3 separate regions of the Homo sapiens genome follow, and all the other regions are linked to region 1. The links are contacts of gene promoters, found by promoter capture Hi-C in human tissues and cell types (Jung and others, 2019). All regions are on one chromosome and are shown on one strand. Each heading gives the region's core, a stretch centred on a gene start or on the middle of the fragment in contact. The rest is flanking DNA. Distances are from core to core; before and after follow the strand shown.

Region 1 (4,972 bases), core at 1,264-3,763:
AGTGCTGCAACAGTGCATTATAATTGTGGGCTGTGGTTTTAATTTCAAAGTGTTTCTTAAAAGACACATTATTTTAAAATGACAGAAAATTCAACTCCCTCGGTTACTGGCCCAGCTAAGCGACGTCACTGCATTGCAGTTCAGCGCTGAAGCTTGGGAGAGTCCCACACTCCTTACTGCAAGCGGATGTGGAGAGGCCAGTGGATAATCTCCTGTGAGCCCATGGCCTTCTTTTCATCCCAGGATGTGAATTGTCTTCACTGATTCATAGTTACACCCTGCCTGCCACAACCAACGCTCTCCTAAACAAGATTCCACCCTCTCCACAATCCGGATGAATCATCTCTTTTCCACCCTTCAGAGCTGGTAGTGAATCCTCCTTCTTCTTTTTCTTAAAAGCATCCTCCTCTCCTCATTTTAGGCAAGTTGCATCCCGTTTTCTGATGGACTCCAGAAGCAGGCTCGTAGTGAATGTCTTTCATGACCCACAGTCGCTGCCACGGGGCACCAAGGTCAGGCAGAAACCATCCAGTGCCACCTTGGTCAGAGGCTAACAGGAGAGAGGTGGCCACGAAAGTTACATCAGATTGACATAGGCCTGTGAAACATTTAGCTTCACTGAGCTTGGGAAAGACAACATCATTGGAAAAAACAATATTTTAGCCCAGGTTCAGCACTGACCCATTGATAATCCAGACTGGGAGGCCCTTAGGTGAGCTGGTTGTCCTGCTACAGCACCCACAGCTCAGGCCAGTCCCGTCCCAACAGCAGAACCACCGAGGACAGCAACATTCCGATTTTAACAAAAGCATCTTATGGAATTAGACATTCTTCATTGGCCCTCACTGAGTGGAAAACAGGATACTCCCCGAAGTAAACTCTCTCCTGGTTTACAACAATACACCTGGCCAAGAATATGGGGCTGCAGGAGGAGGGGTTTATCCTTTGCCCTCTTCCACCTGCCAAACCCAGGTCATACACCCTTCTACAGACCTGTCCAGTTACCATCAGCTGAGAAAAATACAGTTCCGAGAAACCCTATATTGTTATTTTATAAAGCTTGAGTTGAAGCTACCTGTTTTAAAGATCCTTTTTCAGGAAGAGGAGTAAATTAAGATTTACTCCCCAATGGGCTAGGGGGTCATGGGTTAAGAGGGGCTCAGAAGCAGGACGAAGTTGTTTTCAATATTCAAGTCAGAGGAGGAGCTGCCCTCCTGGCCTCCCGACCCTGGGCGGTTACATGCAGCTTCCTACCGGGCCCACGCCATCCTGCACCGCCTGGAGGGCTGCCAGAGGCCAGCGGAGGAGTTGGTTCAGTTCCTTAGGGAAGACACTAGGTGAATCACCAGGATCCAGAAAAGGCAAAAGGGACTCTTCACCCCTTAAATTTCTCCACCCTTAGGTGATGGGTGGTCGACCTTGCCTGGCTGTCCCCAGAGGGTTCCTCCACCCTTCTCACCAGTGTCTGAAATTGTGACCGACTGTGCACAGCAGTTTCGAAAGGGACTCTAAGGTCACATGGGGACACGGCCGTACCACGCTTCTCAAGGCAGTCCCAGGTGCATGGCCACGGAACCCAGCTCTCAGCAGCTGTTAGTTAGGTGAGCGCTGTTCGGGCTGCCTTCCTCCTCCAGTGGGGCAGGATCGAGGCACTGATGGAACCGTCCTGAGGACGCGGGTCTCAGCCGCACACCACCTCTTCGCGAACAAGGGTCCTAAAAATTTTCCTTCTAGGCGGGGAGCACAGCCCGGAAACAGACCCTCGTGAAGTGTTTAGGAAAAAGGGAAGCCACTGAAATCTTGGCCCCGGGGTAGGCCGGGATCGGCTGGCTCCGCGTTAGTTCTAGGCAAACTCCGCCCAAATCTCTGCCCGGGGATTTTTCTGCAGAAGCCGCTCCAAGAGGTAAAGGTCAGTTCCTGCAGCGAAGGCTTCCTGCTTCACCGGCGAAACGGAGCTTTGCTTCGAAGCTAAGCTTTCGGTGAATTTAAAACGTTTGGTGGCAGTGGGTCAAGTAGCCAGGCGGCTGCGCTAGAGTACCCCGAAGGGACATCGGCGACACCACAAACCTCGCGCTGGCGGCTCGCCCGCGCCTTTTTCCCCTCCCGCGCGCGCCCGGCCCCACTCGCACCCCGGGCGGTGCCATCGCGTCCACTTCCCCGGCCGCCCCATTCCAGCTCCGGAGCTCGGCCGCAGAAACGCCCGCTCCAGAAGGCGGCCCCCGCCCCCCGGCCCAAGGACGTGTGTTGGTCCAGCCCCCCGGTTCCCCGAGACCCACGCGGCCGGGCAACCGCTCTGGGTCTCGCGGTCCCTCCCCGCGCCAGGTTCCTGGCCGGGCAGTCCGGGGCCGGCGGGCTCACCTGCGTCGGGAGGAAGCGCGGCGGGGCCGGGGCGGGGGTCTCGGCGTTGGGGTCTCTGCGCTGGGGCTCCTGCGCTCCTAGGCGGGTCCTGGGCCGGGCGCCGCCGAGGGGCTCCGAGTCGGGGAGAGGAGCGCGCGGGCGCTGCGGGGCCGCAACACCTGTCTCCCGCCGTGGCGCCTTTTAACCGCACCCCACACCCCGCCTCTTCCCTCGGAGACTGGGAAAGTTACGGAGGGGGCGGCGCCGCGGGCGGAGCGCGCCCGGCCTCTGGGTCCTCAGAGCTTCCCGGGTCCGCGAACCCCCGACCGCCCCCGAAAGCCCCGAACCCCCCAAGTCCCCTTCGAGGTCCCGATCTCCTAGTTCCTTTGAGCCCCCATGAGTTCCCCAAGTGCCCCCAGCGCCCTGAGTCTCCCCCGGTTACCCCGAGCGCCGCCTCCCCCAGCCCCTTGGCGGCCCGGGTGAAGCGGGGGCGGCTGAGAGTCGGGACCCCCCAGGAAGCGGCGCCCCAGACCCCGGCTCCGGCGCTGTGCCGTGGGCGGGGTTCAGGGATGGCTGTGGTCGTTGTCCTCTGTACTCCGCATAGTGCGAGAGGACTTGGCATTTATGAGCGCTTCTTTAATTTTTTATTGTTAGAGAAACAGGCATTCCTCCAAGGACTGAAGATCTGTTCGAGTCGCGGAGGCTGCGCGGGCCCGCGAGGCTCTCGCAGGGGGACCTAGGCTGGGTGGCGGGGCAGTGCCCTCTGGAATGGGGGTTAACGGTGGCCGAGGAGGGGGCGCCGCTGGTGCCGGCGAAGTCCCCGCTTCTTTCTCCCCTCAAAATCTCACCAATCCGAACGAACGCCTTCTCGAATTTCCGATTTTATTCAATTACTTTCAACAATGTGCCAAGGACTAAGGTTGGGGGCGGTGGGAGAGACAAGCCTCGTTTTTGCCATGGCCGGCAGGGGGGTCCCGCCATCTGCGGAGGGTGCCCCCCGCGGCCCCCGGCCCAGCCAACTTCCTCCTCTTTTCGCAACTGGGGAACTGCAAGGAGGTGACTCCTTTCGGGGTGAGGAGGCCCAGACTTTTCAGAAAGGAAAGAGGGCAGGTAAAACCTGCCAAGCCCCTTCCTGCTCGATGCACACAGCACGAAAGGGGGAAACTGATAGGATTCTGCGGAAGACCGCTGGGGGGCTGGCTCTGCACTGCACACCTGCTGGGGGCTTTCTGGATACCGTGAAACTTTGTCTCAGATTATGAGGTCTCAGTATTTGCATTTGGTTGGGGATTTTGATGTCTTGCGATACAAATGACAGAAGACAGATTTGCACAGCGCAAGCGGATGAGGGACTAAGATGTGCAGAGCAGGCTGGGTGGGGACTCCCGGGGAGGTCTCCCCCAACCCCCGCCCCACCTCGGGCACCCACTTCGCGATTTTTGCAGAGGGGAGCCAGGTCAGAGGTGCAGCCTGGTCCCCTCGCGCTCACGTTTTTACCCAGGTCAGTTCGAAGTTAAGTGGAAATGATGATTAATCCTGACAAGTCAGATCTGGCCTCAGAATGGATTTCCCGTGATTGCCACCATTATTAGCATTGACTTTTCCTTGAAAAATTGGCGCCCCGTGGCCATGGGCCGACCTAGGCAGTTTCTGCAGGGACGAGCGTGAGTTTTGTACCGCGGTTACCACCTACTTTCCAGCTCCAGGTCTTAGTCTAAGAGGGAGTGTCTGCTCATGAAGAGGCAAAGCCCCAGGAGCTGCGAAAAGCCTTGCATGGCCCATCTGAGAGATGTGCTGAGTCGGCTTGTTAAAAATGACAGGCAAAGCCTGTGGGGTGGGGCAGCTTTCTTGGCCTGAGCGCATCTTGGTTGAGCCAGAGGTGACTTGGGGTGGGGAGTGGGGCGCCGGTTGGTGGGTTCTCCCTTTAATTTCTCAAAGGCTGTGGTGTTTATGAGTCTGTTGGAATCCTGGTTGGGTTGGAATGAAGGAAGGTTCTAGAACCATTGTGGGAAGCTCGCTAGTAAAGATGGTTTGGAGATCGGAAGTTGACTGACTTTCCCCCATTGAAAAATGTCACCTGAGATTTTAGTGCCTGTATCACGATTATAGGCTCAACTTTCTTTTCCTTGTTTTCTTTGATTTAGTTCTCCTTATGTGCAAAATTACTGTGTGATGTTGGCTAGTCGTATTATCACAGCCACTCCGTGTTTTCAGGATTTGTAGCTGGAAGTCCTATAGCACTTAAGTCTTCACTTACAGATCAGCGCTTGCTTTTATTCTGTTTTGTGTGATTTCTGCTGTTTTCCTGTGAGTTGGTGTTTTCTTCCCAAGTAGGCTCAGGACTCCTCTAGGGCAGGACATTATATGCATGTACATAGTGTCCTCCAGTGTAGGGGAGGAGAAGGAGGAGAGGTGAGGTGGGAAAAGGGTGAGGGAAGGCTTGGATATTTGAAGTTATTTACAAATGAGCTTAGACGTAAATCCAGTTAACAGATGACACCACAAATTAATGATTAAAGAAATCCTGAAATTATTTTGTAAATTACACACTTATATTGCTGCATTTTTTTTCTGTTGAAAGCATTACTTTTAACAGAAATGGAAACATTGGAAATAAACCATGTTTTTCTCACCT
Region 2 (4,972 bases), core at 991-3,490, 570 kb after region 1:
AGCCGGGTGTGGTGGCGGGCACCTGTAGTCCCAGCTACTCGGGAGGCTGAGGCAGGAGAATGGCGCGAACCCGGGAGGCGGAGCTTGCAGTGAGCTGAGATTGCGCCACTGCACCCCAGCCTGGGGAACAGAGCGAGACTCTGTCTCAAAAAAAAAAAAAAAAAAAAAGTCAAAAAATAACAGATGTGGGCAAGGATATGAGAAAAGGGAATGCTTATACACTGCGGGTATGAATGTAAGTTAGCTAATCCTATGTAAAACAAAAAGACCCCTGTACTAGGCTGTTTATTGCAGGACTATTCACAATAGTAAAGCCATGGAATCAACCTAAGCGTCCTATCAAAGATGGGCTGGATAAAGAAAATGTGCTACATATACACCATGGAATAGTACACAGCCATAAAAAAGAGTGAAATCATGTCCTTTGCAGCAACATGGATGCAGCTAGAGGCTATTATCCTACGTGAATTAAAAGAGAAACAGAAAACCAAATACCACATGCTCTCACTTGTAGACGGGAGCTAAACAATGGGTACAGGTGGACATAAAGACAGAAATAATAGATACTAGGGACTCCAAGAGAGGAGCCGGGAAGAGTGGGGGAAGGATTGAAAAAAACTACCCTATCAGATATTATGTTCAATATTGGGTGATGGGTTCACTAGAAACCCAAACTCCAGTATCACCCAATATACCCTGCACATGTATGCCCTGAATCTAAAATTAAAAATAAAATATGTTTTAAAATTTAAAAATATACATACTCTAAAAAATTAAAAAGAATACACAGATAAAACATCAAAATAATGGACACACTTAATGCTGATGAGAAGGTAGTGATATTGGTATACTCTCTAATTTAGATAACAATTTAAATTGGCATAATCTTTTGGAAAAGAATCTGATAATTTGGACATAAATATTTCTATTTTTCTACACCAATTCTCATTCCTAAGCTTTCTACTCTGAAATAATCACAGATTCACAGGAATGTGCAAAAATAATGAAGGTCCATCCCATGTATCCTTCCACCTATTTTTCCACAATGGTAGTAACTTATATAACTACAGTGCATTGTCAAACCAGGAAATGAACAGTACAATCCACAGAGCTCGTGCAGTTCACCAGTTTTACACACATTTATTTGCAGGCGTATGCACATGTGTATAGTTTTATATAATGATATCACGTGTAGATTCATGAAAACACTTCCATGGATAAGAGACAGAATATTCCAGCACCAAAGAGATGAGTTGTACTACCTTTTTAAAGTCATTCCCATCCTCTCCCACCTCAATCTCCATTCTTAACCCCTGGAAAGCATTTGTTCTCCGTTTCAATAATTTTGTCACTTTAGATAAATGGAATCATACATTATATAACTTGAGATTGTCATTTTCACTCAGCATGGTTTAAAATTTACCCAGGTTGTTCTGTGTATCAATAGTTTATTCCTTTTTATTGCTGAGTAGTAATCCATAGTATGGCCACACTTAACCATTCACCCACTAAAACATTTGGGTTGTTTCCAATTTTAAGGTATTACAAATAGAGCTGTTGTGAACATTCCTGTAAAATGTATAGGAATTTTCATTTTCATTTCTCTGGATAAATGCTCAAGAGTATGATGTTGGATTTTATGGTTAGAGTGTGTTTATTTTGAGGACATCAAAAAATTTATTTCATGATGATACATTATAAGAGGGTTTCATCAAATGAAGAACTGAATCCCTGTACTATGAGGTTTACTGTGGCCAGAGAAGTCAGGATTCTCTTTGCAGTCATGTAGTTGTTTTTGAAATGCCTATTGAAGTGAAATGTGCAAATTTTAAAACATTTGTATTGAGATCTAATTCATATACCATACAATTCATCTATTTAAAGTGTATAATTCAGGTGGAATGTGGGAGGCTGAGACAGGAGGATCACTTGAGCCTAGGAGCAGCCTGGGCAATACAGTGAGACCTTGTCTCTACAAAAATGTTTTTAAAAATTAGCTGAGTGTGATGGCATGTGCCTGTAGACCCAGCTACATGGGAGGCTGTGGTGGGAGGATCACTTGAGTCTGGAGGCATAGGATGCAGTGAGCCAAGATCATACCACTGTATTTCAGCCTGGGTAACAGAACGAGAACCTTTATTTTTCGGGGTCTTCCAATCCATAAAACATGGCACATCTCTCCATTTATTTAGTTCATCTTTGATGTATTTCATCAGTCTTTTTTTTTTTTTTTTTTTTAATTTGAGGCAGAGTCTTGCTCTGTTGCCCAGGCTGGAGTGCAGTGGTGCATTCTTGGCTCACTGCAACCTCCACCTCCTGGGTTCAAGCGATTCTCCCTGCTTCAGCAGCATCCCCAGTAGCTGGGATTACAGGCACCTGCCACCACGCCCAGCTAAATTTTTTTGCATTTTTAGTAGAGATGGGGTTTCACATGTTGGCCAGGCTAGTTTCGAACTCCTAACCTCAAGTGATCCGCCCACCTCGGCCTCCCAAAGTGCTGGGATTACAGGCATGAACCATCGTGCCTGGCCAGGACTTCTAGTGAGCTGAATAGGAGTGATAAGAGCAGATATCCTACACTTGTCCCAGATTTTAAGTGGGAAAGCATTCAATCTTTCACCATTAAATATGATGCAGCCACAACCTTCTGGGCTCAAGTGATCTTTCCACCTCAGCCTCCCAAGCAGCTGGGACTACAGGCATGCGCCACCATGCCCGGCTAACATTTTTATTTTTTGTAGAGATGGGGTCCCACTCTGGTGCCCAGGCTGGTCTCAAACTCCTGAGCTCAAGTGTTCCTCCTGCCTCAGCCTCCGAAAGTGCTGGGATTACAGGTGTGAGTCACTACACCCAGGGTGTAGATGTTCTATGTTAAGATGAGGACATTCCCTTTATTAGTAGTTTGCCAAGTTTCATCATGAATGGGTGTTGAATTTTCAAATAACTTTTTGATATCAACTTATACGATCATGTGATTTTTCTTTAACCTCATGATATAAATTAAACTGATTATCTATTAAACCAGTCTCACATTCCTGGAATAGGTTCCACTTAACTGATTCTTCTTATGTATTGCTAAATCATATTTACTAATATTTTGCTGAGGATTTCGTCACCTATCTTCATGAGGTATATTTGTCTATTGTTTTCGGTCTTTGTATTGTCTTTGGTTTTGGTAACAAGGTAATATTGGTCTCATCAAATAAACTAGAAATGTCTCCTCTTCTATTTTCTGGAAAAGACTGTGTACAATCAGTGCTAACGCAATAAACATTTGGTAATTTTTTTCAGTGAAATCATGTGCTATGGATTCAATTGACACACCACCCCCCTCCCACCCTGCACCCCATTTATATGTTAAAGCCTTAACCCTCATTGTAATTATATCTGGAGATGCTAGGTTGGTGCAAAGGTAATTGCTGTTTCTGCCATTACTTTTAGCCACCCAGTCTACGGTATTTTGTTATAGCATCCCTAGCATTTAAGGCCCGAAATTTTTGTTTTTTTTTTTTGAAACAGAATTTTGCTATTGTCGCCCAGGCTGGAGTGCAATGGCTCGATCTCAGCTCACGGCAACCTCCGCCTCCTGGGTTCAAGCGATTTTCCAGCCTCAGCCTCCCAAATAGCTGGGATTACAGGTGCCTACCACCCACCCTGGCTAATTTTTGCATTTTTAGTAGAGATGGAGTTTCACCATGTTGGCCAGGCCAGTCTCAAACTCCTGACCTCTGGTGATCTGCCCGCCTAGGTCTCCCAAACTGCTGAGATTACAGGCATGAGCCACCATGCCTGGCCTGAAAATTTCTTGTATGAGAGGCCTTTAACTGCAAATTCAATTTAATACTTACACGGCTATTCACATTATCAGTTTCATATGGGGTGAGTTCTCGTAGTTTGTAGTTTCAACGAATTGGTCTGCTTCATCTAAGTTGTTAAAATTTATCTGGATAGAGATGTTTATAGCAGTCCTCAATTATTTCTAATGTCTTTAGGATCTGTACTGATATCCCCCATTTCATTCCTAATGTCAGTAATTTCTGTTTTCTCTTTTTTCTTACTAAAGGTTCATCAATTTTATTGATCTCTTTTAAAAAATAAGTTTTTGCATCATTGACTTTATTTTCAATTTCATTGATTTCTGCCTTTCATTTCCTTCCTTCTACTTGCTTTGCATTTGTTTTAAACTACCTTTTTGTTCTGGGAGTTTAGAACACTGTTTTGAGACCTTTCTTCTAATTTAAGTGTTCAGTGCTTTAAATTCCCTTTTAGCAACATCCCAGCAAATTTTTGTCCTTTTTCACCCATTTTCATTCAGTTCAGTGTACTTTTAAATTTCTCTCTGGCCCATATATTTAGAAGGACACTGTTTAATTTCCAAGTGTTTGGAGATTTTCCTATTAGGTTTTCTAGCATGTATAATTTCAACACTTTTTAAAAATGCTGAAGTTTGTGTAATAGCTATGGATATGGTCTATGTTGGTGAAATATTCCATGAATACTTGAAAACAATGTGTATTTTGATGTTGTTGGGTGAAGGTTATATAAATGTGAATAGATCCTTTTGGTTAATGGTGTTATTAAGTCCCCTGTATCCTTGCTGGTTTCCCATCTAGTAGTTCTATCGATTGCTGAGAGGGAATGGAAGTACCCAGCTGTAATTGTGGATTTGTCTGTTTCCTTTCAGTTCTATCAGTTTTTATTTCATGCTTCATGTAATTTAAATTGTTCTCGTTTGGTGCGTACATACTTAGAACTGTTGTTTGTTCTTGATGAATTCACTCTTTTTATCATTATGTAATTCTGTTGTTGTTCCTAGTGACTTCTTTACTCTTATAAGTCTACTTTACCTGCTATCAATAAAAGTGCTCATGCTTTTAAAAAAAAGCTTCTATGGCATATATTTTCCCCTTCCTTTCACTTTCAACACACACACACACACACACACACACACACACACACACCCTAATTTTGA
Region 3 (4,972 bases), core at 670-3,169, 540 kb after region 1:
ATCGCACACTTTATTTTGAAAACCAGGCCAGGGACAGCTCCAGTTTGGGGGGAGGGGAAGAGATTATAACTTTTAAATCTACTACGAAAATACAAAAAGAGGAATGTGACAGGGTTCCTTCCTGTGTTATGTCACCGTCTGTAATCAGATCCCACAGTCCAGCCCAGAATCATAATTCACATAACAGCGAAACTCATTTGCCAAGTTCCGGGTGTGTCTTGGAACAAACGTGCACATCTTCACTCCAAGGAGTTCTGCTGCCTGTTCTTCCATGATGGCACCTGAAGAGAACAAAGCAAATGAATCCAGAGAGTGACAACCCAGCCGGAGCTCAGTGCGTCCTGAGCTGTGAGAGGGGCTCTAGGCGGACCACCGGTGGCAATTAGTTGACAATTCACAAGTGGGGGGAGGGAGCGAGTGTTCTTTACATTCCCTTTCACCTTCTCCAATATTTTTGCAATTTACCAACTTTTTTCCATGTCTTTTTTATTGAATGAATTATTTTCCTACCTCTGCAAAGCCGAGACACTTAGAAATTTAGAAGCAGATTATACACACACACACACACACACGTACTATATATATATACACACATATGGAAAGCAAAAATAATTACTAAAAACTACATTTCCCAACGTTGAGCCAAGAGCCTTTTTCAGTAATATCCAATCTTGCAAACACAGGTGCGAATGTATTGCCACTCCCTTTTGCCATCTGCTCCCAATTTCTCCCCGCCCTGGGCCCACAGCGCACAGCCAGCTCCCCTGCGACATCCCCACAGGAGGTGGCATCCACAGCCCTGATTCCTCTCCTCTCTTCCCCTCCACACTCAAATACAGCAAGCTCTCTCAACTTCATCTTCAAAGTATCTCTTTGACGCCCCTGCCCTGCCCTCCTTGCAGGCCACCGCCCTCCCTGGGGTGCAGCAACAGCCCGCGGTGCCCAGGTCCACGTGCCCCAAAACCTCGGTCAAGTTAAAGCGAACGTCTTACGTCTTCAGACAAGTTGCGTCCCGTCGCCTTGGGCTTCTGAAGAAAACCCCAATGCCCACGGTCCCCTGTTAGGCACTGGGGGCCTCCTGCCCCGACTCTGCCCTCCCGGGCCGCTGTGGCCGTGGCTCCTGACCCCTCAGGTCCCTGGGGCAAAGTGCAGATCCCTGGGTCTCTGTTACTCTTCTCAGAGTTAGTGCTTCCAGCCTTTAGTCTATTTTATTATTATTTTTTAAAAGTATCCCCTGAAACTAAAATGCACACTCCATGAGGCCAGAGCGCTGCCTGCTGGTGCACAGAGCACTGCAGAGAGCTCAAGGAAGCAACGGAGTGAATAAGCGTGCAGGCAACCACGGCATCTGTGCGAACAGAGCGCCCCTTCCCACACACGCAGCTCTGCAACACCAGAACAGCTTCCCGTGGCTCCACTCCTGGCCCAGCCCTGTTCCCAGCAGGGTGCCCAGGGGACAAGCGCGGCCCGGAGGGACTGGGGTATAGCGTCCACAACAGCACTCAAGGGTGTGGACACCACAGGTACCCAGAAATAAAGAGACGGGTCAGTTGGTAAGGTTTCAGTTCTCAGAATTTTTTTTTCTTTGAGACAATCTTGCTCCCTGCCCAGGCTGAAGTGCAGTGGCACCATCAGAGCTCACTGTAGTCTCGACCTTCAGAGATCAAGCAATCATCCCACTGAGAGGTGAAGCCAGCTGGACTTCCTGGGTCTAGTGGGGACTTGGAGAACTTTTCTGTCTAGCTAGAGGATTGTAAACACACCAATCAGCACTCTGTAAAATGGACCAATCAGCACTCTCTGAAAAATGGACCAATCAGCACTCTGTAGAATGGACCAATAAGCAGGACGTGGGCAGGGACAAACGAGGGAATAAAAGCTGGCCACCCCGCAGCCAGCAGTGCAACCAGGTGTTGTCCTCTTCCATGGTGTGGAAGGTTTGTTTTTTGCTCTTCATAATAAAGCTTGCTGTTGCTCACTCTTTGGGTCCACACCAACTTTAAGGTCTGTAACACATACCGCAAGGGTCTGCCGCTTCTTTCCTGAAGTCAGCGAGACCACGAACCCACCAGGAAGAAAAAACAATTCCGGAGGTGCCGCCTTTAAGAGCTGTAACACCACGAGGTCTGTGGCTTCATTCTTCAAGTCAGTGAGACCAAGAACCGATCAGAAGGAAGAAACTGCAGACACACCACCTCCATCTCCCAAATGGCGGGGAGGCCCATGCAACCACACCTGGCTAATGTTTAAAATTTTTGTAGAGATGGAGTCTTGCTGTGTTGCCCAGCCTGGTCTAGAACTCCTTGCCTCAAGTAATCCTCCCACCTTGAAGTTCTCAGATTTACTCTATTGAATTTTACCATATCTGCCTTAAGTGTATCAAACCCAGCTTGGTGGCACACACCTGTAAGTTCCAGCTACTTGGGAGGCTGAGGTGGGAGGACGGCTTAGCCCAATGGTTTGAGGTTACAGAGAGAAAAAAAGTATAACGATCTCGCCAGTAAGAAAACTCTTCTACATTAACCCAATCTAATGTCTACTCTGTAACCTCAGGCAATTCACTTAAACTCTATAGATTCCAAATTTCTCTTTGATAAAGGGTAGAGGCTGGATAAGATACCGATAGTATTGATGATGGTATGTAAAAGTAACAGCTGACATTCATCAAGTAGTCACCATGCACCAGACCCAGTGTTGGGTACTTTGTGTCACTTAATTCTTTAGGACCCTTAATGGCAGAGTATTATCAGTCCTAGTTTACAGATAAGGAATCCAGGGCACAAAGAGTTAAATAACTTGTTCACAAGTCACACAGGAAGTGGTGGACTCAGGATTTTTTCTTGACCCTGAAGACCTGAATAGCCACTGTCAGTGACTTTGATGAGATATGAAATGCAGCACCTACCTGTGCACAGCAGAATCTTGCCCCGCGTCAGGTACTTGACGGTTTCCGATGTTTTTCTGAGACATTCCTCCGAAAGATAGGGAGGATCTGCTATTACGATGTCAAAACTATGTGCAGCAATTCTTTCGGGTAAGTCCAATGGATTATTGTAATCATAGAAAATAAACTCCTCTCCATACATGGCAAATCTTTTGTCATATTCAAAGATGTATATCGAAAAGTTTTCTCTGCACAGCTCTCTGAGTTTCTGGTAAACACTAGGGGCACTCACACATGCGATTCTAGGAGACAAAATGAACACACCATGAAACATCCTTAACAGAGAGATTACGGTGTTAACAACTTCTTCACTAAACAATACATGGGTCCGAGTGCTCAGAGTTTCTTACAGGAAACAATAATGCAAACTAGTGTAATAGTTAATGTTGAGAAAAAACTTTATAGTGTCTCACTTTTAAGGAATCTGGTACTTAAAAGTCTGTAACTTATAATTTTTTTTCTTTTTTTTTGAGATGGAGTCTCACTCTGTTGCCAAGGCTGGAGGGAAGTGGCGTGATCTCGGCTCACTGCAACCTCTGCCTCCTGGGTTCAAGCTATTCTCCTGCTATTCCTCCCAAGTAGCTGGGATTACAGGCACGCGCCACTGCGCCTGGCTAATTTTTTTGTATTTTTAGTAGAAATGGGGTTTCATCATGTTGGCTAGGCTGGTCTTGAACTCCTGACCTCAGGTGATCAGCCTGCCTCGGCCTCCCAAAGTGCTGGGATTACAGGCATGAGCTACCGCGCCTGGCCTATAGCTTATAATTTTGAGGTATGAAAGGCTATAGTTTTTATAGTGAAAAATGTAAAATATCAGGAACACATTATGACAAAATTTAGATGTAGTTAGCCCAAAGCCTAAATTTACCTATTATTTTCATGCTAGGCCTTTGATATTTATTTTAAATACTTTTTGTCCCAACTAAATACTATAAAGTCATTTTGTAATATTCATGATCTTGAAAGATAAACCCAAATAACTCCCCAACTCACTCCAGTTTTCCATAAAGATACATTAAAATGTGCTCTCACTGCAGACAAGCTATTCTGAATTTCTGCTTTGCTTCTTTTTTGTATAAGGAAATTAAAGTATCTATCTCATTACAGCAGCCCAGTTTATGAATGGGTAGTGTTTTAAGAGTTAACTGTTAAAACCAACTGCCAAAAAGCTAGAAGTAACCTAAATACGGAATTATTGAGTTGACTGTGATACACTTTTTTTTTTTTTTTTTTTGAGACAGGGTCTCACTCTGTTGCCCAGGCTGGAGTGCAGTGGCATGACTTCGGCTCACTGAAACCTCTGCCTTCCGGGTTCAAGCGATTCTCCTGCCTCAGCCTCCTGAGTAGCTGGGATTACAGGCACCCGCCACCACGCCTGGCTAATTTTTGTAATTTTAGCAGAGACGGGGTTTCACCATCTTGGCCAGGCTGGTCTTGAACTCCTGACTTCATGATCCACCTGCCTTGGCCTCCCAAAGTACTGAGATTACAGGTGTGAGCCACCGTGCCTGGCCACTAATTATTTTTATAGAGACAGGGTTTTGCCACTTTACCCAGGCTGGTCTCAAACTCCAGAGCTCAACATCTGCCTGCCTTGACCTCCTAAAGGAGGCGTGAGCCACTGTGCCCAGCTGGTATGCCTATTACAATGGAAAGTTCTGTGGCCATTTAAAAAAGGCTGAAGCAGCCCTCTCTATGCTGATAAGGAATGATCTCTGAGATCTATTCAAGGAACAGAACAGTGTGAAGTATGCTTTCATGGGAGTGGGAATATATGCATATAGATGTACAGGTGACCTCTAGAAGGTGTCCAAGAGACAGTGACCATGACTGCCTCATGGGAGAGTGCCTGGGGGACCTGGATACAATAGAGAAGAGAGTGACCTTTTCTCACAATTCCTTTGTCACGTTTGGATTTTTATATGTGCATACACTGTCATTCAAAAAAGGACCTAATTTAAAAATTACGCTCAGCTTTAAAAATGTGTGACGCATTTCCAACAGAGACAGTGTTACCCGTCTTACTTA

The links. Contacts are between HindIII fragments. The study calls those that stand out against the background at their distance.
Region 2: a fragment that was not itself captured here is called in contact with the fragment with the promoter of GJB2 in region 1 in 1 of the 25 tissues and cell types used here (lymphoblastoid cells).
Region 3: a contact is called between a fragment that was not itself captured here and the fragment with the promoter of GJB2 in region 1, in 1 of the 25 tissues and cell types used here (heart left ventricle).

What each region holds. Positions count from the first base shown.
Region 1 is chr13:20,190,425-20,195,396 of GRCh38, forward strand. GJB2 (gap junction protein beta 2) reads right to left here and starts at 2,514. Exons shown (of 2, transcript NM_004004.6): 1 at 2,359-2,514. The HindIII fragment of the contact is 6,658 bases long and covers 1,517-4,972 here.
Region 2 is chr13:20,759,958-20,764,929 of GRCh38, forward strand. All of the region lies in intron 1 of EEF1AKMT1 (EEF1A lysine methyltransferase 1), which reads right to left. Among named protein-coding and RNA genes, the nearest start is that of EEF1AKMT1, 12 kb to the right of the region's middle. The HindIII fragment of the contact is 7,304 bases long and covers 1-4,972 here.
Region 3 is chr13:20,728,936-20,733,907 of GRCh38, forward strand. EEF1AKMT1 (EEF1A lysine methyltransferase 1) reads right to left here. Exons shown (of 5, transcript NM_001318939.2): 4 at 2,906-3,186; 5 at 1-281. The coding sequence ends at 145. Among named protein-coding and RNA genes, the nearest start is that of IL17D, 28 kb to the left of the region's middle. RefSeq lists enhancers at 654-1,181, 1,182-1,708. The HindIII fragment of the contact is 5,378 bases long and covers 1-4,608 here.